5 separate regions of the Homo sapiens genome follow, and all the other regions are linked to region 4. The links are contacts of gene promoters, found by promoter capture Hi-C in blood cells and fetal thymus (Javierre and others, 2016). All regions are on one chromosome and are shown on one strand. The core of a region is centred on a gene start or on the middle of the fragment in contact, and the rest is flanking DNA. Distances in the headings are between cores, read along the strand shown.

The links. The method cuts DNA at HindIII sites, captures the fragments that hold promoters and counts their contacts. A CHiCAGO score of 5 or more calls a contact.
Region 1: a contact is called between a fragment that was not itself captured here and the fragment with the promoter of ZNF585A in region 4, in 1 of 17 cell types (activated CD4 T cells). The highest score is 5.4, in activated CD4 T cells.
Region 2: a contact is called between a fragment that was not itself captured here and the fragment with the promoter of ZNF585A in region 4, in 1 of 17 cell types (total CD4 T cells). The highest score is 5.2, in total CD4 T cells.
Region 3: the fragment with the promoter of ZNF347 here is called in contact with the fragment with the promoter of ZNF585A in region 4 in 2 of 17 cell types (activated CD4 T cells and naive B cells); the score reaches 9.2 in activated CD4 T cells.
Region 5: the fragment with the promoter of ZNF468 here is called in contact with the fragment with the promoter of ZNF585A in region 4 in 1 of 17 cell types (total CD4 T cells); the score reaches 6.4 in total CD4 T cells.

Annotation. Positions count from the first base shown.
Region 1 is chr19:56,551,746-56,556,091 of GRCh38, reverse strand. It overlaps ZFP28 (ZFP28 zinc finger protein), which reads right to left. Exons shown (of 8, transcript NM_020828.2): 8 at 1-2,408. The coding sequence ends at 700. All of the region lies in intron 1 of ZNF470-DT (ZNF470 divergent transcript), which reads left to right. Among named protein-coding and RNA genes, the nearest start is that of ZNF470, 14 kb to the left of the region's middle. RefSeq lists an enhancer at 642-1,841. The HindIII fragment of the contact is 210 bases long and covers 2,055-2,264 here.
Region 2 is chr19:52,094,263-52,098,598 of GRCh38, reverse strand. It overlaps ZNF841 (zinc finger protein 841), which reads left to right and starts at 2,834. Exons shown (of 7, transcript NM_001136499.2): 1 at 2,834-3,024. The HindIII fragment of the contact is 4,438 bases long and covers 417-4,336 here.
Region 3 is chr19:53,157,116-53,161,084 of GRCh38, reverse strand. It overlaps ZNF347 (zinc finger protein 347), which reads left to right and starts at 2,032. Exons shown (of 5, transcript NM_032584.3): 1 at 2,032-2,076. RefSeq lists a silencer at 1,850-2,099 and an enhancer at 1,835-2,129. The HindIII fragment of the contact is 5,586 bases long and covers 1-3,969 here.
Region 4 is chr19:37,170,253-37,174,028 of GRCh38, reverse strand. ZNF585A (zinc finger protein 585A) reads left to right here and starts at 1,334. Exons shown (of 5, transcript NM_001288800.2): 1 at 1,334-1,402. RefSeq lists enhancers at 1,108-1,402, 1,244-1,433. The HindIII fragment of the contact is 2,114 bases long and covers 359-2,472 here.
Region 5 is chr19:52,856,203-52,860,093 of GRCh38, reverse strand. It overlaps ZNF468 (zinc finger protein 468), which reads left to right and starts at 2,475. Exons shown (of 4, transcript NM_001008801.2): 1 at 2,475-2,522. It also overlaps a transcript of ZNF320 not described here. RefSeq lists an enhancer at 2,797-2,876. The HindIII fragment of the contact is 10,660 bases long and covers 473-3,891 here.

The DNA.
Region 1 (4,346 bases), core at 910-3,409, about 19 Mb before region 4:
GTTTACCTCACAATGAATGGTTCCTTAAAAGTTTTAATACGGTTCACTTATAAATGTGATTTTTAAACAAGTCAAATCTTGCAAAGTTTTCTAATTCTTGAGTAACGTCAGTTGTTTTAACTTCATGCATATAAATCTTGCATTTTTCTGATTTTTTAAATTCATTTGTCCCAGCTGGCCTATTCATTCATGGTCCCTAGACTTTCTAAAACAAATCAAGTCAAATGTAAAGTTTAATTTTCTCACCAACAAGGTCACATCACCTTACATTCACATAGGGTCAGATGGAAAGCCACAAAACTAACTTGGCATTATAGAATCAAGTTTTAAAACCAACAAAGGCAAAACCTCACCCACTACTGGAGAATTCTGTTCCTGATAGAAAATGTGCTTTTTCCTACCCTCACCCTACTGCATCATTTTTTTATCAGAGCTGACTACTGTAACTTTTCAATGTTCAAATACAAAGTTTTTAAAACAGCTAAGTTTACTGAGCACTTACTATGGACCAGGCACTGTGCTGAGCACATCTCACACATTAACCAATTTAAAGAAACTATAAGTTTTACAAGAGGAGTGAATAAGTTACATTTACACTTATGTGAAGAACTAACTAATAAGGGACAAAAAGAAAACAAAAGGGCAGGGAGATGGGGTTTTAAACTGCTGGAGTAGTCAAACAGAAATGACGTCTCGAGGCTATGGTGATGGGAGGGAGGATGGATTCCAGAGAAATTTGGGAAACAGATCCACAGGATTTGACGTGGAAGGTAAAGAGGGGCATGTTGACGACTCTCCAGTATGAATTCGCTGATGATGAGCTAAGTGAGCAGTTTGCCTGAAGACTTTTCTGCTTTTCTTATAGTTATAAGATCTCTCTCCAGTATGAACTCTCTTATGTTGATTAAGGTGTCCAATTTGGATGAAGGTTTTCCTACATTCCTTACATTCATATGGTTTCTTTCCAGAATGGATTCTCTGATGTACACTAAGGGATTGACGATGACTAAAGGCTTTGCCACACACACTGCATTCATAAGGTTTTTCTCCAGTATGACTTCTGCGATGACAAATAAGGGAGGATTTTGTCTTGAATGCCTTTCCACACTCAATACATTCATAAGGTCTTTGGCCAGTGTGCAGTCTTTGATGTTGAGTACAGGATGAGTTATCACCAAAGGCCTTCCCACATTCCATACATTTATAGGGTTTCTCACCAGTGTGAACTCTCTGATGTTGAATGAGGTGTGTGGTCTGGCTGAAGGCTTTACCGCATTCCTTGCACTCATATGGTTTCTCTCCTGTATGGGTTTTCTGATGCTGTGCAAGGTGAGCCTTCTGGGTGAACGCTTTACTACAAACCTTACATTCATAGGGCTTCTCTCCAGTATGGATTCTCTGATGAGTGGCAAGCTGAGAACTGATGCTGAAGGATTTTCCACACTCCGCACATTCAAAAGGCTTCTCCCCAGTATGAATCCTTAAATGACTGGCAAGGTGTATATTCTGCCTAAAAGCTTTTCCGCACTCTTTACACTTAAAAGGCTTTTCTCCAGAATGTACTCTTTGATGTTGAGTGAGTGATGCATGATGGCTGAAGGCTTTTCTGCAAACATCACATTCATATGGTTTTTCTCCGGTATGAATCCTTTGATGTACAGTAAGGGAGGAACCATACCTGAAGGATTTGTGACATACATCACATTTGTAAGGTTTCTCTCCAGTATGAATTCTCCTGTGTTGATTAAGCCCTATGTGGTCACTGAAGGCTTTCCCACAATCGATGCAATCAAAGGGTTTCTCCCCAGTATGATAGTATCTCCAGTGACGGATAAGGGATGTGTTCTGTATGAAAGCTTTCCCACACTCAATGCACTCATAGGGCTTCTTGCCAGTGTGACATCTCTGGTGTCGGGCAAAGGATGAGCCGTCACTAAAGGCCTTCCCACATTCATTACATTTATAAGGTTTCTCTCCAGTGTGAATTCTCTGATGAACAGTAAGAGATGAGCTCTGGGTAAAAGTTTTCTTACATTCATTACACTTGAAAAGCTTTTTTCCTGCATAGATGCCTGTTTGTTTTATTACCACTGAACTTTTTTGAAAATTTTTAATTGAATCACGATTATGAACTTTCTCTTCTGAATCGTCCAAATAGAACCATCTTCCAGATTTGTTATATGTACGTTCTCTTTCCTTAGAGAGGGTTTTGTTATGAGTAATTGGCTCTTGCCTGAATTGTGTCTCTTGACCTACTGCAAGCTTCCTTCCAAACACATAGTCAGAATCCCAATTTTCTCTGAAACTGGAACAATCAAGTTTAGTGTTTGAGGTTCTGTCTGTTACCCCTTCAGCATATGAATCTTGCTTTGGAAATAATTCCTGGGTCTCATGTACAGATCGCTGGCCTGAAAGATACCAAGAAAACACATATTTCCTTTTTCGTGTGCTAGGAAAAAGGAATCTGCCAAAAGGAAAACTAGTGAATTAATTCACTAATTGGTGAATTCATCAACATACATTTTACAGCTCTAAAAACTATTACATTTAGGGCCAGGCACAGTGGCTTACACCTGTAATCCCAGTGCTTTGGGAGGCTGAGGTGGATCACCTGAGGCAGATCACTTGAGGCGGATCACTTGAGGCCAGGACAACATAGCCTGCACAACATAGCAAGACCCTATCTCTAAAAAACTTTTTAAAATTAGCCAGGCATGGTAGTATGTGCCTGTAGTTCCAGCTACTCAGGAGGCAAAGGCAGGGGGATTGCTTGAGCCTAGGAGGTTGATGTGGCAGTAAACTATGATCAAGCCACTGCACTCCAGCCTGGGGAACAGAGCCAGAATCTGACTCAAAAAAAAAAAACAATTATTTTCACATTTTCCTGGTTACTTCCACAAGCCTGAAAACATCCTCAATTCTCTGGCCATTCTATAATGAAGCCTTGCAATTTCTCTCTTTTTGGCAATATTTTTCCAGCTTTATTGAGGCATAGTTGACAAATAAAAATTGTATATATTTAAGGTATAAAATGTTTTGATATGCTTATACATGGTGAAATGTTTGCCACAATCAAGCTAATTACCATATCACCTCACATAATATACTGTCACTGAATTGTACACTTCAAAATGGTTAAATTTTATGTGTACTCTTCTATAATAAAAATATGTAAATAAAACAAACAAAAAACAGGCCACACAGCAAAATACAGAAGAGAAAGGTAAGGAAAGAAGGGAAAAATGAGAAGGAAAGAAAGAAAAGGAAGGAAGGTGATAAAGGAGAGAGAAATAATTAAGTTACAGAAGGTCAAACAAATGTATTATATGATTCAAATGGGACTATACATCTATTCATTTTTTAAGAGATAGGAGTGAAACAAATGAAAAAATCAACAAAGTACGTGCTTCTATAAATGAAGATAATTCCCAAGTTAAGCTACTATATAGTAAGAAATACCATATGCAAACTTCTAGACCACACAAAATTGGGGAAAAATTTTATCAAACTTATTAAAAAATAGCATTCATATCAATGTTGCATAAATACAGGAAAATATACAACCCAATAGAAATGTGACTAATGAGTATAAACACACTATGAATAGAATACAAACTCTAAACAGATTTAAGAGCACATATTCTCAACATCGTAAGTAGTTGGGGAAATGCAAATTAAATAAAACATTTTTCATCTAGCAGCTTGGCAAAATTTTTTTTAAACTACAAAATACCCATATTGGTGATGATGTCTAGAAACAGTATTCTCATATATTCTTTACCAACGGTACAGCAAAATATCCATGACACTTTAAAAATACATATACTTCGACCATGCAAATTCATTTCCAAGCATATATCTTCAAGAAATATTCTGACATGTAAGCAAGAAGATATGTACAAACTGGACCACTGTTGATTATAGGTGAAAACTGGAGAAGACCTCCTAAATGTTTAAATATACTCAACAGTAAATAATTTAAATAAATTATATATATTCATATAATACTAAATAGTCATTAAAAATGAAATAGAACTATATGTGTCAAGTTGTTAGCCACACAAATAGGAGAAATCACATTAGAAATAATATACTGGACTATATAAAAATTGAAAATTTTTACATGTCATAATTTTAAAAGACCTAATTAAAATTAAAACTCTTATTGCCATATGTGAAAATAGTTTGAGACAATATATCACAGAATTAGTATGCTTATATACATAGCAGTCACTGAGACTGTTAAGAAAATATTTAACACACAAGAGAGAACTGGGTACAAATGACAGACATTTTACAAGAAGATAAGAGAAAAACCAAATTTACGAAAAAATGTTCAACTTCTT
Region 2 (4,336 bases), core at 1,386-3,885, about 15 Mb before region 4:
TCAATTTTTCATCAAACACCTAACAGAAGAAGGCAAGTTAGCTCCCTGCTTCCTTGGCGTTATCTTTCATTTATGTATTTGTTTATTTATTGAGACAAGAGTCTCACTCTGACTTCCAGGCTGGAGTGCAGTGGTGTGATCTTGGCTCACTGCAACCTCTGCCTCCCAGGCTCAAGCAAATCTCCCACCTCAGCCTCCTCAGTAGCTGGGAGTACAGGTGTGGGTCACCATTGCCAGGTAATTTTTGTATTTTTAGTAGAAACAGGGTCTCACCATGTTGCCCAGGCTGGGCTGGAACTGCCCACCTCGGCCTCCTAAAATGTGGAGATTACAGGGGCAAGCCAGTTTGCCCAGCTGAATCTCCTCTTCTTATAAAGAAATCAGCCAGATTGGATCAGAACCCACTTTAACAAGCTTATTTTTACTTGATCACTCCTGTAGATGCCATATATCCAAATACAGTTATATTCTGAGGTACTGGGTATTAGGACTTCAAGATAGGGTTTTTTTTGTGTGTGGAAATTTTTCTGCTCATAACACACTGTGTTCTGGACTCCTAAACTTTATGTCCTTCTTACATGCAAGATCCCTTCACTCCCATCAGAACAAAAATCTTTTATTTATTTATTTGAGATGGGGTCTCTCTCTGTCACCCAGGCTGGAGTGCAGTGGCGTAATCATGACTTGTCACAGTCTCGACCTCCTGGGCTCAAGTGATCCTCCTGCCTCAGCCTCCCAATAGCTGGGACCACACATGCAGGCCACCATGCCTGGCTAATTTAATTTTTTGTAGAGATGGGGTCTGACTATGTTGCCCAGGCTGGTCTCAAATCCTTGGCCTTAAGTGATCCTGCCACTTCAGCCGCCCAAGTAGCTGGGACTACAGGAGTGTGCCACTAAGCATGGCTAATTTTTATATCTTCTGTAGAGACGGGGTTCTTGCTATGTGCCCAGGCTGGTCTTGAACTCCTGAGCTCAAGTAATCTGCCAGACTCGGCCTCCTGAATTGTTGGGGTTACAGGCCTAAGCTACCTTGCCTGGCCCATCTGAAAAGTCTTAATCCATTTCAGTATCAACTCTAAGGCCCAAATATCACCTAAATATTATCTGAATCACATATGGGTGAGACACAAGGTGTGGTTCATCCTGAGGCAAAGTTTCTGCCCAGCTGTGAATCTGTGAAGCCAGAGAAGTTATCTGCTTCCAAAATACAATGGTGGGACAGGCATAGGAAACACCCTCAGCCCTGGAAACCACCCTTCTACTTTGTTACTCTGAATTTGATGTTTGTACTTAGCACGTGTAAGTAAGTGCATGAAGTATGTTTCTTTGTGTGTGTTGGGAACGGGTGCTCAGTGTCGCAAAAATCAACACTGAGACAAAGGATCTCTCAGCAAGGCTAGTTTACTTTCTGCAGAAAGGGTGCTGCTCACTAGCAGTCTTGCCACGAGAGTACACATGAACAAAAGAGAAGGGTCATTTATAACCTGACGCATCTGGCCGGGCGCGGTGGCTCATGCCTGTAATCCCAGCACTTTGGGAGGCCGAGGTGGGCGGATCACGAGGTCAGGAGATCGAGACCATCCTGGCTAACGCAGTGAAACCCCGTCTCTACTAAAAATACAAAAAATTAGCTGGGCGCAGTGGCAGGTGCCTCTAGTCCCAGCTACTCGGGAGGCTGAGGCAGGAGAATGGCGTGAACCCAGGAGGCAGAGCTTGCAGTGAGCCGAGATAGCGCCACTGCACTCCGGCCTGGGCGAAAGAACGAGACTCCGTCTCAAAAAAAATAATAATAATAATAACCTGACGCGTCCACCCTACTGCTGTGTCTGGTTTCCATTGGCTGGAATCGGACCCAATTCTGTGCTTGACCTGATTGGCTAGCACCTTAGAACTTCCCAAAAGAGGCAAAGGCAGAGGAGAACAAAGGAAGAGAGGAAGTAACTTGTGGAAGGCTGAGAGAGGCAAAAACACTTCCAAATAAGGAAGAGGAATAGGCTGTGACCTAATGCTTGCTTGGAACAATTCAGGCATGCCAGGGCAAATATCTAGGCTAAAATGTGGGAGCTAAGAACACAGAGTATATTGATTTATCTATTATGGCTAGCAGATATTTAAGAATATTAGCACAGGTCTTTGAGTAAATTTTGCTTCTAAGAGAGGTTACTATCTATTCTCAATTAGACTGGGAGGAAAGTCCCTTTGAAGAGGAACCTCTACTTATTTCATTTTCTACACTGTGTCTAGCACATTTCGCTTGGCATAATGTCTTCTGGGTTCCTGGATCCAGTCACTGCTCCACATCCAATCCCCACCGAGATCCCAGTTCCCTGACTACTGAGTAGCTTCAGCTTTTCTGGTAAGACTGGATGGAGTCCACCAGGCTCGGAAAAATCGGTTTTGACTTAAATCAGTTCAACTTGTTAAGAATAAATCATCTTAGTTTCCAGTATAAGTGGACCACAACTTTAAGATTCAACCTTAAATTCTGAAACATTAATTTAAAATGGGCAAGGAGCAACGCTGCTTCACAGGACAAGAAATAGTCACAAATACTCCCAAACCTGGAAAACAAAATCCTGCTGGGTGAGAGGCGGAGTGGAGAACAGGCCCCGCCTCGGCCCCGCCCACCCCTGGAGGCCCCGCTTCATCCCAGTTTTCGGTCCAGCCAAGCCCCACCTAGTCACGCCCCCTACCGCCCTGGGCCTCCCACCACCCTTTCGGGCCACTCCCAAGTCAGGCCAGTCTTTCCGCCCAGCCCTTTCCTAGTCGCGCCCCGCCTAGGCCCCGCCCCCAGGCCGCCCAGTTTTTCTTTCCGCGCCCAGTTTCCTGCACACCCGGAAGCAGATCGCGCTGGGGAAAGGCCACGTCGCTATGAGTGTGTTTCAGTCTACCTGGATTAAACGTTTGCTTCTCTTCGTCTACCTTGATTAAACGTGCACTTCGCAGTCCTCGGTTCTCCATACCCGTGACCTGGGGATCGCTACGGACCTTAAAATACCCGCAACAGCCCCTTCGTCCCAAGTAAGTAGGAGAATTGCTTCCCTTTCGGTTTAAAATCTCTCTGAGGCCGTTCCTTGCTCTCTGCCTTTCTTCCTTAGGACCATGTAGACAACCCCATTCAGGTAGTGTTCCCGCTTAAAACCCTCTGCTTGGGCCCCGCGCCAAGTCGAGTCCTCATTCGGGATGTGGACTAGCGCCCTTCGCGATCCCCGAGCTCCTCCGTCGTCTGCCCCTGGAGGGGAGCGCCCACTGTCCGGCTCCTGAAGGAGCCGCTTCTCCTCCCACGTCCTGGGATTCTGCAGACCCTCCCTGTCGTGAGACATCGTTCTCCGCGCCACCTCGTGTCGTCCTCACGCCGGGTCCTTCCGCTCCCCAGGCTTCCCCTTCACAGCCACTGCTTTTCTTGACTCCCCGTTGGGACAGGTTACCTGAGTCTGTCTTGTGACACCCAGTGTTCTTCCTTCCCAAATTTTACTCCACTGGAAAATGTGCTCTTCCGGGAGGTGGGCATCCTATTCCTCCCCTTTCCTCCCGAATGTGTGGGTGAGAGGGATCAGGAGAGGAAAAGACGGGGAACGACGGAGCAAAAGGAAAAACTGAGGAGAAAAGAATGAGGGAGACCCATAAATACACGGCAAAATGGATGATACTTTAGGGACTTGCAAAGAGAGCAAGAGTGAAAGAGAACGGATGGAAAAAGTAGCAGGGGGAGAAAAGCACACAGAGAAATTTAGAAAAAAAGGGGACCTTCAGAGAGATGAAGGGCAGCAAAATAGAGTGGGGCGGCAAAGGAGGAGGCACTGCAGACAGACAGACAGTGGGGAGAAGGTGAAAGAGTTGGAGCCGCGGCTGACAGAGCTACGTGGTGCTGGGACTGAAAGAGAGGGAGAGAGGGCAGTGGGTGACAAGCAGAGTAGAGGGAGAACCACAGCAGGGAGTAAGCCTAGGAAATTGGGGGTGCTAGAGAGTGGGAACAAAGGAGATGTAACAGGGAAGAGGGAATTTAACAAGGAGAGCAGAGAGGGAGCTTAGATGGGGGAAAAGAGGCAGAAATACGTGGAGATTGGGGACAATCGGAAAGATTGGGGAGAAAGAGCTACGAGAGGTGAAGTAAGTTGCAGAGCATTGGGCAGAACAGACATAAAAGAGGGAATAAAGAAAGGGGTGCAAAACAGAAAAGGAGAAAAAAAAGACGCTCAGAATGAGAGAGGGAAACACATAGCCGTGAAGAAAGCGGGAGAGGACCCCATCCAGATGCGTGACAGTTGATTGGATATGGATGGTGGTTGTAATATATTGATTTGTGGCTTTATACTCTGATTTGAAATATGTT
Region 3 (3,969 bases), core at 783-3,282, about 16 Mb before region 4:
TTTGTTTTGTTTTGTTTTTTGAGACGGAGGCTTGCTCTGTCACCGGGGCTGGAATGCAGTGGCGTGATCTCGGCTCACTGCAACCTCCACCTCCCAGGTTCAAGTGATTCTCCTGCCTCAGCCTCCCAAGTAGCTGGGACTACAGGCATGTGCCACCACGCCTGGCTAATTTTTGTATTTTTAGTAGAGACAGTTTCACCATGTTGGCCAGGCTGGTCTCGAACTCCTGACCTCAAGTGATCCACCCGCCTCTGCCTCCCAAAGTGCTGGGATTACAGGTGTGAGCCACCACGCCCTGCCCTAGTTTTCTTGATAGTAATATTCTACATTTATTCTTCCGCTGTACCCATAGGACTCATTAAAAATAACACAACTGTTGAAAATGTTTTTGAAATCCTGTTTAGTTATAATGCCTAAGATGTTTTTATACTAACTCAGTGAAAATCTGTGGAAAAGTTTCTTACATAATAAATATGATTAAGCAGTTTTACTGGAAGGGCATTTCTCCAAAGGCTATGGAAATGTTATTTTCAGTTTATGGTATTGAGCAATATATTTCATGGTTTATGTTCAATTGTAGTAAAATTACTTTTTATTTTTTAATATGATTTTCCCTTTTATTTTTTTCTTTCATATATTGTAACCCAGATGAAACGTTTAATATTTTGTTAAAGTGAAAACTATACGGTGTATATAAATAAGGGTGTTGTTTGGAGATAAAATTGTGTGACATGAAAATGTACATAAGACAATAGCAGGTATAAACTAGGTTCTCTATAAACATGAAAAAAGGGTATCCCTGTGAGTCTTTAGTTCAGTCAATGTACTGGGATGGTACGTTAGAAATACTGGAAAACTATTCTTTAGGCGAAAATAAATCCAATTGTCATGTGGTGACTATTTTCCACACTCTGTTATCCACATCTGATAGAACATTAAGAAACAGAAAACAAAAAAATAGACCCAATATAGATTACAATTTTAAAATAAAAAGTACTGTGTCAAGTTCCCTTCAGAATGCCCATAAAGTGAATTTGAAATTACATGATATTTAGAAATTATTGATTTAAGCATATTTTGATGCAAAGAAAGATTATGTCAAAGTTGTTTGTGGTTAAGTCATTTCAAGTGTGGAACGGAATAACGAATATAAGCAAAAATAATGCAGTTTATCTCTATTTTTTAAAAATTCACATGGTTTAAATCAGTAGTTGACTGGGCACAGTAGTTCACTCCTGTAATCCCAGCAATTTTGGAGGCCCAGGCAGGAGGATTGCTTGAGGTCAAGAGTTGGAGACCAGCCTGGGCCGAGACTCCCATCTTTACAAAAATATATGTTTTAAAGAACAATAAAGCAGCCCTTGGTGATCTAACTTATCGGCCTTAACCTTCCCATGAATTGAGCACAGGCTTGACTCTTCCACTGGGGAGAATGGGGATTTGAAATGTAAAGGAGGTTCTGTTGGGCTACTGCATTAAATTGCATATCCGTCCAGGTAGGATGCTGCATTTCCCATTCTACTTTGAATCATCCTCAGAGATAATTTCCAGACATTTTAGTTAAATTAAATACATTTTAATTGCAGGAATTGCTGGATCCAATCGCCGTGCCTCGTGGATCCTCCACTAAGATCCCAGTTCCCAGACCGAGATCCCCGATTCCCAGATCCCCGTTCCTGAGCTGCAGCAGACTCCCTAGCAGGACTGGGTCCAACCCGCCGGCAAACAATTTTAACATAAACCGTTTTCAACTTGGTAAGAGGAAATCATTTTGGTTTCTATCATAAGTGGTCCACGTAAGTCTATTCTTTCACCTTAAAACTGCTTCAAATTGGAACGGTGCTCCCGGGGACATAGTGAACACTCCAGCGTTTCTAAACCGGGAAAAATGAGACTGCGGGCTAGGCAGGCTGAGGGAAGCGCAGACCCCGCCCCAGCTCCGCCCCAGCGTTTCGTCCGCAGACCCCGCCTCTCCCCAGGCCCCGCCCCCAGAGTGCCCGGGCTCTTTTCCGCGCACGCGCAGTTTTCTGCAGTTCCGGAAGCGGATCGTGTTGGGTGCGGGTGACGCCGCCGAGCGTGAGTGTCCCTCAGTATGGATTAAACTTGCGAACCGCCGTGCCCCGTTTCCGCAGCCAGTTCCCGGGCTCGCTACAGACCTTTTTTTTTTTCTTTTTTTTTTTTTTTGGTGAGACGGAGATTTACTCTTGTTGTCCAGGCTGGAGTGCAATGGCGCGATTTCGGCTCACCGCATCCTCCGCCTCCCAGGTTCAAGCGATTCTCCTGCCTCAGCCTCCCGAGTAGCTGGGATTACAGGCATGTGCCACCACGCCCGGCTAATTTTGTATTTTTAGTAGAGACGGGGTTTCACCGTGTTGCCCAGGCTGATCTCGAACTCCTGACCTCAGGTAATCCGCCCGCCTCGGCCTCCCAAAGTGCTGGGGTTACAAGCGTGAGCCACTGCGCCCGGCAGCTACAGACCTTAAGATCCCCGCACCGCGCCCTCCACCCCAGCTGACTCGCGGTGTGGGTTCGGAGTCGCTTCTCTTTGGGTTGAAGTAGCTCTGAGGCTTCTCCCTGTCCCCGGCCTTTCGCGTCTTCCTCCCGCTTAAAACCCTTTCCTGACCCCTCCTCCCGCCCCGGGCTTTTTAAAGTCCTCGCCCGCGAGGTGGATTCCCGCCCTGGGTGCCTCCCAGCCTCGCCCTCGTCGGCCCCTGGAGCGCAGCTCCTCAGCCCCGGTACCGGCGAGGCCGCGTCCTCTGCCTGGTCCTGGCATCCTGCAGACCCCACCCCTCTTCTAAGGCGCCGTCGCCCCGCCACCTCCCTCCTCCTCGTGCCGGGCCCTGCTGCTCCCCAGGCCTCCCCTTCGCAGTCCCCGCTTCTCCTGAGCCCGCGCTGGGGAGGTGCCCGGGGCCTGTCCTGTGACACCCGGTGTTCTTGCCTGCCCAGCTCCAGCCCCTGGAAAATGCGCTCCTCCAAGATGCAGGCGTCTTAGTCCAAACCTTCCTGTGAATGTGTGGACCAAGGGGATTAGCAGGTAGAGAAAGGGGCAGAGACAGAGAGAGAAGTAGAAAAACTGAGAGGAAAGAGTGAGGGAAACCCGTAACCAGATGGCAAAGTAGAGGATGGGCGAGGGATTTGCAGATGGTAAGAGAAGGAGCTGAGAAGGCAGAAGGAGAAAAGCAACTGGGGAAATGTAGAGAAAAGCTCGATGTCCAGAGACATGAAGGACAGCAAGGTAGGGAGAGGGCCAGAAAGTGGGAGGCTCCTCAGACAGAGTCCGGGAGAGGAGGAGGGATTTGGAGCCAGGGCAGACAAGCAGCGTGGTGCTGGGACAGCAAGAGGGGACAGCCGGTGACGAGGAGAGCAGAAGGAGAACCACAGCAGGGGGAGGCCTGGGATCTGGGGGTGCCAGAGAGTGGGGCAAGAGGTGTAGAAGGGAAGAGGAGATTCAACAGAGGGAGCAGAGATGGGAGAAGAAAGAGGCAGAAATATATGGAGACTGGGGACAATGAAAAGACTGGGGAGAAAGAGGAATCAGAGTTGAAACAAGGCCCCAGAATGGGACAGAACAGGTGCAAGCGGAGGAAGAAGGGGAGAAATAGCAGGAGATGAGAGGGGCTCAGAACGACGCGCAAAGAACCAGGGGAAAAACACAGAAAATAAAAAATAAGCTAATGTGAGAATGAGAGCTATGTAGAGGATGAGGGAGGGAAACACACAGTATGGAAGCAAGAGAGGGACCCTGAGTCCAGGTGAGTGGTGCGTTGATTAGATGTGATGATGACATTGTGACATTGGTTTCTGGGTTTAAAATAATGCAACACATTTAAAATACGTTTACTTAAATTATGCAGTTGCAAATGAGAATGGAAGAAACTCCTTTATGTAAAATGCGTAACACGTGCATTTGACAATTATTAGTATTAGGGTATAGCTTCATTTGCAATCACTATTCAAACCAGAGGGCAG
Region 4 (3,776 bases), core at 85-2,584:
GAAAGAAAACCTGAGATCAGCAGAGTCTAATTCTCTAAACATATTTTTAAGCCGAGTCCCAGAGACAGACATAACTGGCCTGAAGGCATCCAGCATGCCCACATCAGAGTGTAGGTTCAATTCCCTGAAAACAAGTTTCCCACCTGCTGGAACTGAACACATTGGGTAGTAATTTCCCACCACTGTTCAGGTAGAACTTCCTGTCAGAAGCTGAGCTGTGAATCATGTTTAGGAGTTCACCAAGTGAAAGGAATTGTATCTTTACAACTCCTCATCCACACCCTCCAAAAAGGGGAGTAAGGAGGTTTCAGAATTTCCACAGAGGAGAAGCTAAGGGTCAGAGACTGCACTTAAAGCTTCATTGACATGGTAAGGCGATTGTTATTAATTATATTTTAACTTCAAGGTAAATAAAAACAGTCTTCTTTAGGTGCTTTTAGTAACACGTTGGCCATACTAAAGACTATTAGTGTTGTTATTATTGCTGCCTACTATAGTTGCACTTGAGGTATTTAGTGTGGAGGGTAATGGGTGATTCAAATCTCTATTCACCTTCCCACCCGACCCAGCCCTTCAGAAGGGGACGCCCGGACTTCTCCTCCCTCCTCTGGTGGTATCTCCCAGGAGAGGATTGTATTAATACTATTGGACTTCTACCCTATTTCCCAAGGCGGTTTCTCCCATTAAAAGTTGTACCACTCTTCCTGCAGCCTACTACTCATTCAGATGTCTCTCAGACTTTCAGGGTGGTTTCACTCAAGAGATGACTCCCCTAGTGACCTTTCCACCTTTTCCCTGAATGGCGTCTGTAAAAAATGGACTGTACTATCCTGATTCCTCCTATCATCTGCCTGTGGTTTCTCCCAGGATCCCCTTCACTTGGTGATTTTTCCCTGGCTCCTCTATTCCCTGGTAATTATTATCCTCAGTGTCCTGTATTCAGAAAGGTAACTTAGCTTTTCTAAATATAACATACAGCACCAGACCCACATTTCCAGTAACTTTCTCCTCCGAAATAGAAGCCTAGTCAGACAAGGGTCACACTCCAGCATCCTATGTAACTATACCTGCCTCGCTCTAGGAAACCCTGCCAGCGGCCAATTCCTCTGCTCTACGGAATGGATATGCTTTCAAAATGGCGGCCCACGCGAATAAACACCATAAGGGCGCGGCCATGTTCTCTGCCGGACAGCGCCACATTACGGAACCTGTGCGCTGTGTCTGCGCCCTGTTGACTGTTCGAGGAAACTGGCTTCCAAGTTTATTCAGAGCATGCGCCATATCAACAGCCTACAAAGGGGAGGTGCTAGAAGTCGGACCGGAAGTGGAAGTGGTCTTCCAAGGCTTTTTTGCCGCTGGTGTCAGGAGTATTTTCATATTCCAATACCGATAAATCTTTGAGGTGATTTTGGTTGATCACGATTGGGGTTTCTGTGGAGCCAGTAATAGGGGGTGTCGAGGTTGCCTGTGGAGTTAGTGATTGCGGTTTCAGGCTTCGGTGATGGGGTTCTGTGGCGTCCGTTGTTGATTGTGACGGATTTCTCAGGTCATTGATGGAGCTCTTTGGGATGAGTGATTGAGGTTTGGGGGTCAGTGATGGGAGTCTGTGGTCAGTGACAGAGCCTGTAGGGTCAGTTATGGTGATCGGTGAGGACTGTAATCAGCTTGCTTTCTAACCTGAGTTGAAAGTTCAGCTTTTTAATTTTCAGTCTTCTTTAATATAAAAATTCTCAAGTTTTGGTGAATCTTTGTATTAAAAATTGTTCAAATCTAAGTGGTTTTTTCTTTGATCCATGAGTTATTTAGAAGTTCCTTTTTAAAGTAATGTCTGTTTAATGGTCAAATTGAAAAATTGCTTTATGACCTAGTTCGTGGTCAGTTTTCATGAATGTCACATCTATTACATAGAAACAGTGTACTATGTTCTCTAATTGTATTGTTATAGATATTAATTAAGCATATATTCAAAAAATATATCTGTCTCCTCACAGATTATTTTGTCTGCTTAATTACAGAGGAAGGTAAAGTACTCAACTCTGGAAAGGTTATTTGTCCATTTGTCCTTCTTTTTCTGCTTTATATATGTGAAATTATTAGGAATAACTATGTGCACTTTTTTTTTTTTTGAGATGGAGTCTCGCTCTGTCACCCAAGTTGGAGTGCAGTGGCGCGATCTCAGCTCACTGCAACCTCTGCCTAGTGGGTTCAACGGATTCTCCTGCCTCAGCCTCCAGAGTAGCTGGGATTAGAGGCACCCGCCACCACGCCCAGCTAATTTTTTGTATTTTTTAGTAGAGACGGGGATTCACCATGTTGGCCAGGCTGGTCTCAAACTCCTGACCTCAGGTGATCTACCTGCCTCCGCCTCCCAGAGTGCTGGGATTACAGGCGTGAGCCACTGCGCCCGGCATATGTGCATTTTTAATACTTTATAGATATGACTAAGTAGCTCAAAATATAACAATTCAAGCTTATACCAACAATTTATAAAATAACTCATTTTCCCAGATGCTTTTCCAGCAGTGGATATTGTTGCATTTTAAAAGTTTTTAAAATTTTGAGGGAAAATTATATCTAATTGCTCCAATGCATTTTCCAGTTACTAAAGTTGGCATCTTATTTGGTTAATTGCCATTTGTTTCCTTTTCTGTGAATTTTCATATCTTTTGTCCTACTTTTTTTTGTGGTATATTTTAACATAAAGTTAGGAAATATCATCTAATCAAAAGTATCTGATTTTTCTGTTACAGAGTCTGTGTTTCCTCTCACGTGTAATAAGATCCCTCCCAGCCCACCACAGTGTTATACACATGTATACTTCTAAAATTTATTTTAATAGTCTTTGTGATTTAACAAATACACATAATTAAGTGATCAGTCCTGCTGGCATTTGCCTACTGAATAGTGTGTGATGGAGATCTAGTTTGTTTTTTTCCAGGTGGCCAGCCAGTTATATCACTGCATTATATCACTGCCATTTATGCAATGAATGTCTTATGCACACTCATTTGAATACCACTTTTATCACATATATAGATCAATATTGTCTGGTATATTTATTGTTTTACTTGTTTTTATTACATTGTTTTTATATTGTTTTAATATCTGATAATGCATGGTAATCGCTGATATGTATTGTATGATTTTTGTGTGCCTGGGAGGTGTTGAGTACTTTACAAGTATTATCTCATTTAATTTTTGTAACTTTGAGATAAGCATTTTCATCCTCATTTCTGAAATTAAAAGTGAAGAAATGGCTGGGCGCAGTGGCTCACGCCTGTAATCCCAGCACTTTGGGAGGCAGAGGCGAGCGGATCAGGAGGTCAGGAGATCCAGACCATCCTGGCCAACATGGTGAAACCTCGTCTTTACCAAAAATTAGCTGGACATGGTGGCGCATGCCTGTAATCCCAGCTACTTGGGAGGCTGAGGCAGGAGAATTGCTTGAACCTGGGAGGCAGAGCTTGCAGTGAGCCGAGATCGCACCACTGCACTCCAGCCTGGCGACAGAGCGAGACTCCGTCTCAAAAGAAAGTGAAGAAACTTCTGTTCTCATAGGTGAAAAGTGTCAGAGCTGCAGTTCAAATCTGCAGTAACATTACTCCATCTCTCATGACTTTTCCCATATTTCACCGTAACTAATACCTATCACAGATTTTGTTAAATTTTATGTTCTCCTCAGCGCTGGTTCTCAAAGTGTGGTCCCTGTACTGACAGCATCAGCGTTTCCTGGGCACCAGTTAGAAACGAAACTTTTTGGGTTCTACTTTAGACCT
Region 5 (3,891 bases), core at 1,226-3,725, about 16 Mb before region 4:
AAAAATTCCAAAAATTAGCCGGGCGTGGTGGCGGGCGCCTGTAGTCCCAGCTACTCTGGAGGCTGAGGCAGGAGAATGGCGTGAACCCGGGAGGCGGAGCTTGCAGTGAGCGGATATTGCGCCACTGCATTCCAGCCTGGGTGACAGAGCGATACACCGTCTCAAAAAAAAAAAAAAAAGAAAGAAAAACTTAAAGAGGAGGCATTTCCTTTGTTTATGAGGACACCCTACTTTGTAACTGGTAGCGTGTAGTGCAATAAAATTTAGTTTCCTAATATCAATTTAAAAAAAAACAGTTTACCTGTAAGTAGGAAGACTACCCAGCCCCAGAGATAAGACCTTTTGGCATCATTGTCCCTTCTTACGGAGTGATAAAGTAACCTTCCTTGAAGTGTATCAATCCATCACCAGTCAAGCTGCCGCAGCCTATGCACTGGTCTTGAATGGAAAATGTGTTGATTCTGCTAAAGCTTCTCTGTCTTTCCCTGTGTGTGAAACCTTAACATCTCTACATGGGAACACGGGCCCCCTTCATTTGGAGTTGATGTTTCCAGATGGCTATCCTCAAACTTTGTGTTCCAATAAACTCTATAATTAATCGTGTATTCTGAATTTTATTATTTACTGCTGACGTCAGTTTCCGTCAGATTGTAGGAGCCTCACTAGAGAGGGCACCTGTCGCCATGTCGTAAAACTCACACTTGTCAAAAAGACGTGGGTTAATGTATTTCCCCTCCTTCTGCATGAAGCTAGTTAGCTGACACAGATGGTCACCTCCATTACCAAGTAGAGCCAGGATGAACTATGTGCGACCAAAGACTTGTCAAGTCCTCTTCCCTGAGGACTGATTAGTGTTTATCTTGAAAACATGTACTTAATGGGTTGTATAGAGCAGTGAAGTTTCTCTCTTTTCAACCTCTCAGCTCTTTGCCTGTATTTCCCAACACATTCTGGTCTAAGGCTTATTTACTAATAAAATGGTTTTTATTTCTTCCTGTTTTGTCATGAAGATGATTTCTCATTTTGGGGAAGATTTTTTAGTTTTCAATTGTATTTTTTCAACATTTAAAAAGCGAAGTAAAGAGTATTTCTTGGGCCAGGCACAGTGGCTCACGCCTGTAATCCCAGAACTTCGGGAGGCCGAGGCAGGCGGATCACTTGAAGTCAGGAGTTCGAGACCAGCCTGTCCAACATGATGAAACCCCGTCTGTACCCAAAATACAAAAATTAGCCGGGCATGGTGGGTGTGCCTGTAATGCCAGCTACTCCGGAGGCTGAGGCAGAAGAATCGCTTCAACCCAGGAGGCAGAGGCTGCAGTGAGCCGAGATGTCACCATTGTACTCCAGCCTGGGCGACAGAGAAATACTCAGTCTCAAAAAAAAAAAAAAAAAGAAGAAGAAGAAGAAAAAGAAAAAATGTAAATAAAAAGGAGAAAGTAACAGATCTCTTTTACAAATGTGCTGGGACAACTAACTGGATATCCATATGGAGAAGAGTAATGTTGTATTCCTATCTCACACAAGCAAATTTAGTTTGTTTATTTATTTTTAGAGAGGGAGTCTGGCTCTGTCGCCCAGGCTGGAGTGCAGTGGCTCGGTCTCGGCCCACTGCAAGCTCCACCTCCCATGTTCACCGCATTCTCCTGCCTCAGCCTCCTGAGTAGCTGGGACTACAGGCGCCCGCCACCACGCCCGGCTAATTTTTGTATTTTTAGTGGAGACGGGGTTTCATCGTGTAAGCCAGGATGGTCGCGATCTCCTGACCTCGTGATCCGCCCGCCTCAGCCTCCCAAAGTGCTGGGATTACAGGCGTGAGTCACCGTGCCCGGCCTAATAAAAATTTTATTTTAAAAATTTAAAAAAGAGAGAGACTGCGGGAGGGAATGTTACATTGTCGCGCAGGCTGTCCTGGACCCCCAGGCTGAGCGATCCTCCCGCCGCTGCTTCCTGAGTAGCTGGGACCTCAGGCTCCCACGCCCGCATCCCTGCTGTGTTTAAGCAGCAGGTGGTGACCTCACTCCTCCCTGGCCTGAGCACTCCGTCTGGCATCCCAGGCTGTGGCCCTAGGGATGTCTCTGAAGCTGAGCACTGGGTGGACTCTCCCTCCTGAGTGAATGGAGAATAGAAAGGGAGAAGATTTCTATACTGTCCTGTGGGCCATCAGCATGAAATCCTACGTTCCGCCCAGAAAGGGCTTTGCATTTTACATTCTAGTTTGCATCCTCCTTCCAGACTATTCCAGGGCTTTTGAATTATCCGTCTGCCTTCCTGGGGGCTCTCGCCGCCAAAACCCGGAGAACGGGTTGGGAGGAGGCTGAGAGATGCACAGGTCCCGCTCCGGCCCCGCCCTCTGCGGGTTCTAAAGGGCAAGGTCTCGCCGCTTCGCGCCCCGCCCACACCTCACCCGGGCCCCGCTCGCCTCCTCGTTGGCTCCACCCAGGCCTGGTTTCTGTCCTGCGCGCGCAGATTCGCGCAGACCAGGAAGTGGATCCCGTGGAATGACGGTCACGCCGCGGCGGGCGGTGAGTTTTGCTCTGTGTGGTGTTAAGTCTGAGCTTCCCAGGTCCCCGGCACTTCTGTACATGGGATGTGGGGTCCCCATAGACCTGGAAGTTCTCGCCTTTCTTCCTTCACTCAGAGCAAATGGAGATGTTCTACTGGGAGTCCGGAAGCCCCTTCTTTTTAGGTTTAAAGTCGCCCTGAGGCTGGTCCCGTCCCGGGTCTTTCTGCCATAGGGCAATGTATACGTTTCCTATCGCGTAGTTTTCCTGCTCAAAACCGTTTTTTGACTCCTTCCGCACGGCTCTTTTTAAAGTCCTCACCCTAGAGGTGTATTCCCACCCTGTGCGCCTCCCAGCCTTACTCTCCTGGGTTCCTGGAGCACAGCGCGGCGACCCCAGTCCCGGGAAGGCTGCGTTCTGTGGTCCTGGGATCCTGCGGATCCCACCCTTGTCCGAAGGCGTCGTCGCTCCCCACCTCCCTCCTCCTCTTGCTGGGCCCTGCTGCTCCCCAGATCTCCCCTCCGCAGTCACCGCGTCCCCTGAGCCCTCGTTGGAGAGGTGCCTGGGGCTTGTCCTGTGACGCGGGGTGTTCTTGCCCGCCCAGCTCCAGCACTTGGAAAATGCGCTTCTCCGAGATGCAGGCGTCTTACTCCAAACCCTCTTGTGATCGTGTGGGCCAAAGGGATCAGGAGACAGAGAGAGGGACTGAGAGAGCAGTAGAAAACCTGAGACAGAGAAAAGAAGAATGAGAAAGACCCATAACAGATGGCAAAGTAGAGGATGGGTGAGGGATTTGCCAAGAGACAGCAAAAGTGATAAAAGATAAGAAAGCAGGAGGAGAAAAGCAACTGGAGAAATGTAGAGAAAAGCTAGATGTACAGAGAGATGAAGGACAGCAAGGTAGGGAGAGGGGCAGAAATGTGGAGGCTCATCAGAGTGAGGGAGAGGAGGAGGGATGTGGAGCCGGGTCAGACAGAGCAGAGTGGTGCTGGTGGCAAGGAGAACAGAGGGAGAAGCACAGCGGGGAGGACACCTGGGGATCTGGGGTGCCAGATTGGGTCCAGGGGGTTATAACAGAGAAGAGAGAATTTAACAGGGAGAGCAGAGGAGGCGCATAGATGGGAGAAGAGGCAGAAATCTATGGAGATTGAGGACGATCTAAAGATTGGGGAGAAGGACCAACAGGAGGTTAAATAAGTTGCAAGGATGGAGCCCAGCTAATTTTTGTATTTCTAGTAGAGATAGGGTTTCACCATGTTGGCCAGGTTGGTCTCAAACTCCTGACCTCAGGTAATCCACCCACCTCCACCTCCCAAAGTGCTGGAATTACAGGTGTGAACCACCTCAGCTGTCCACCCATGTATTTCTTGATTGAAATAATTTGCTTATG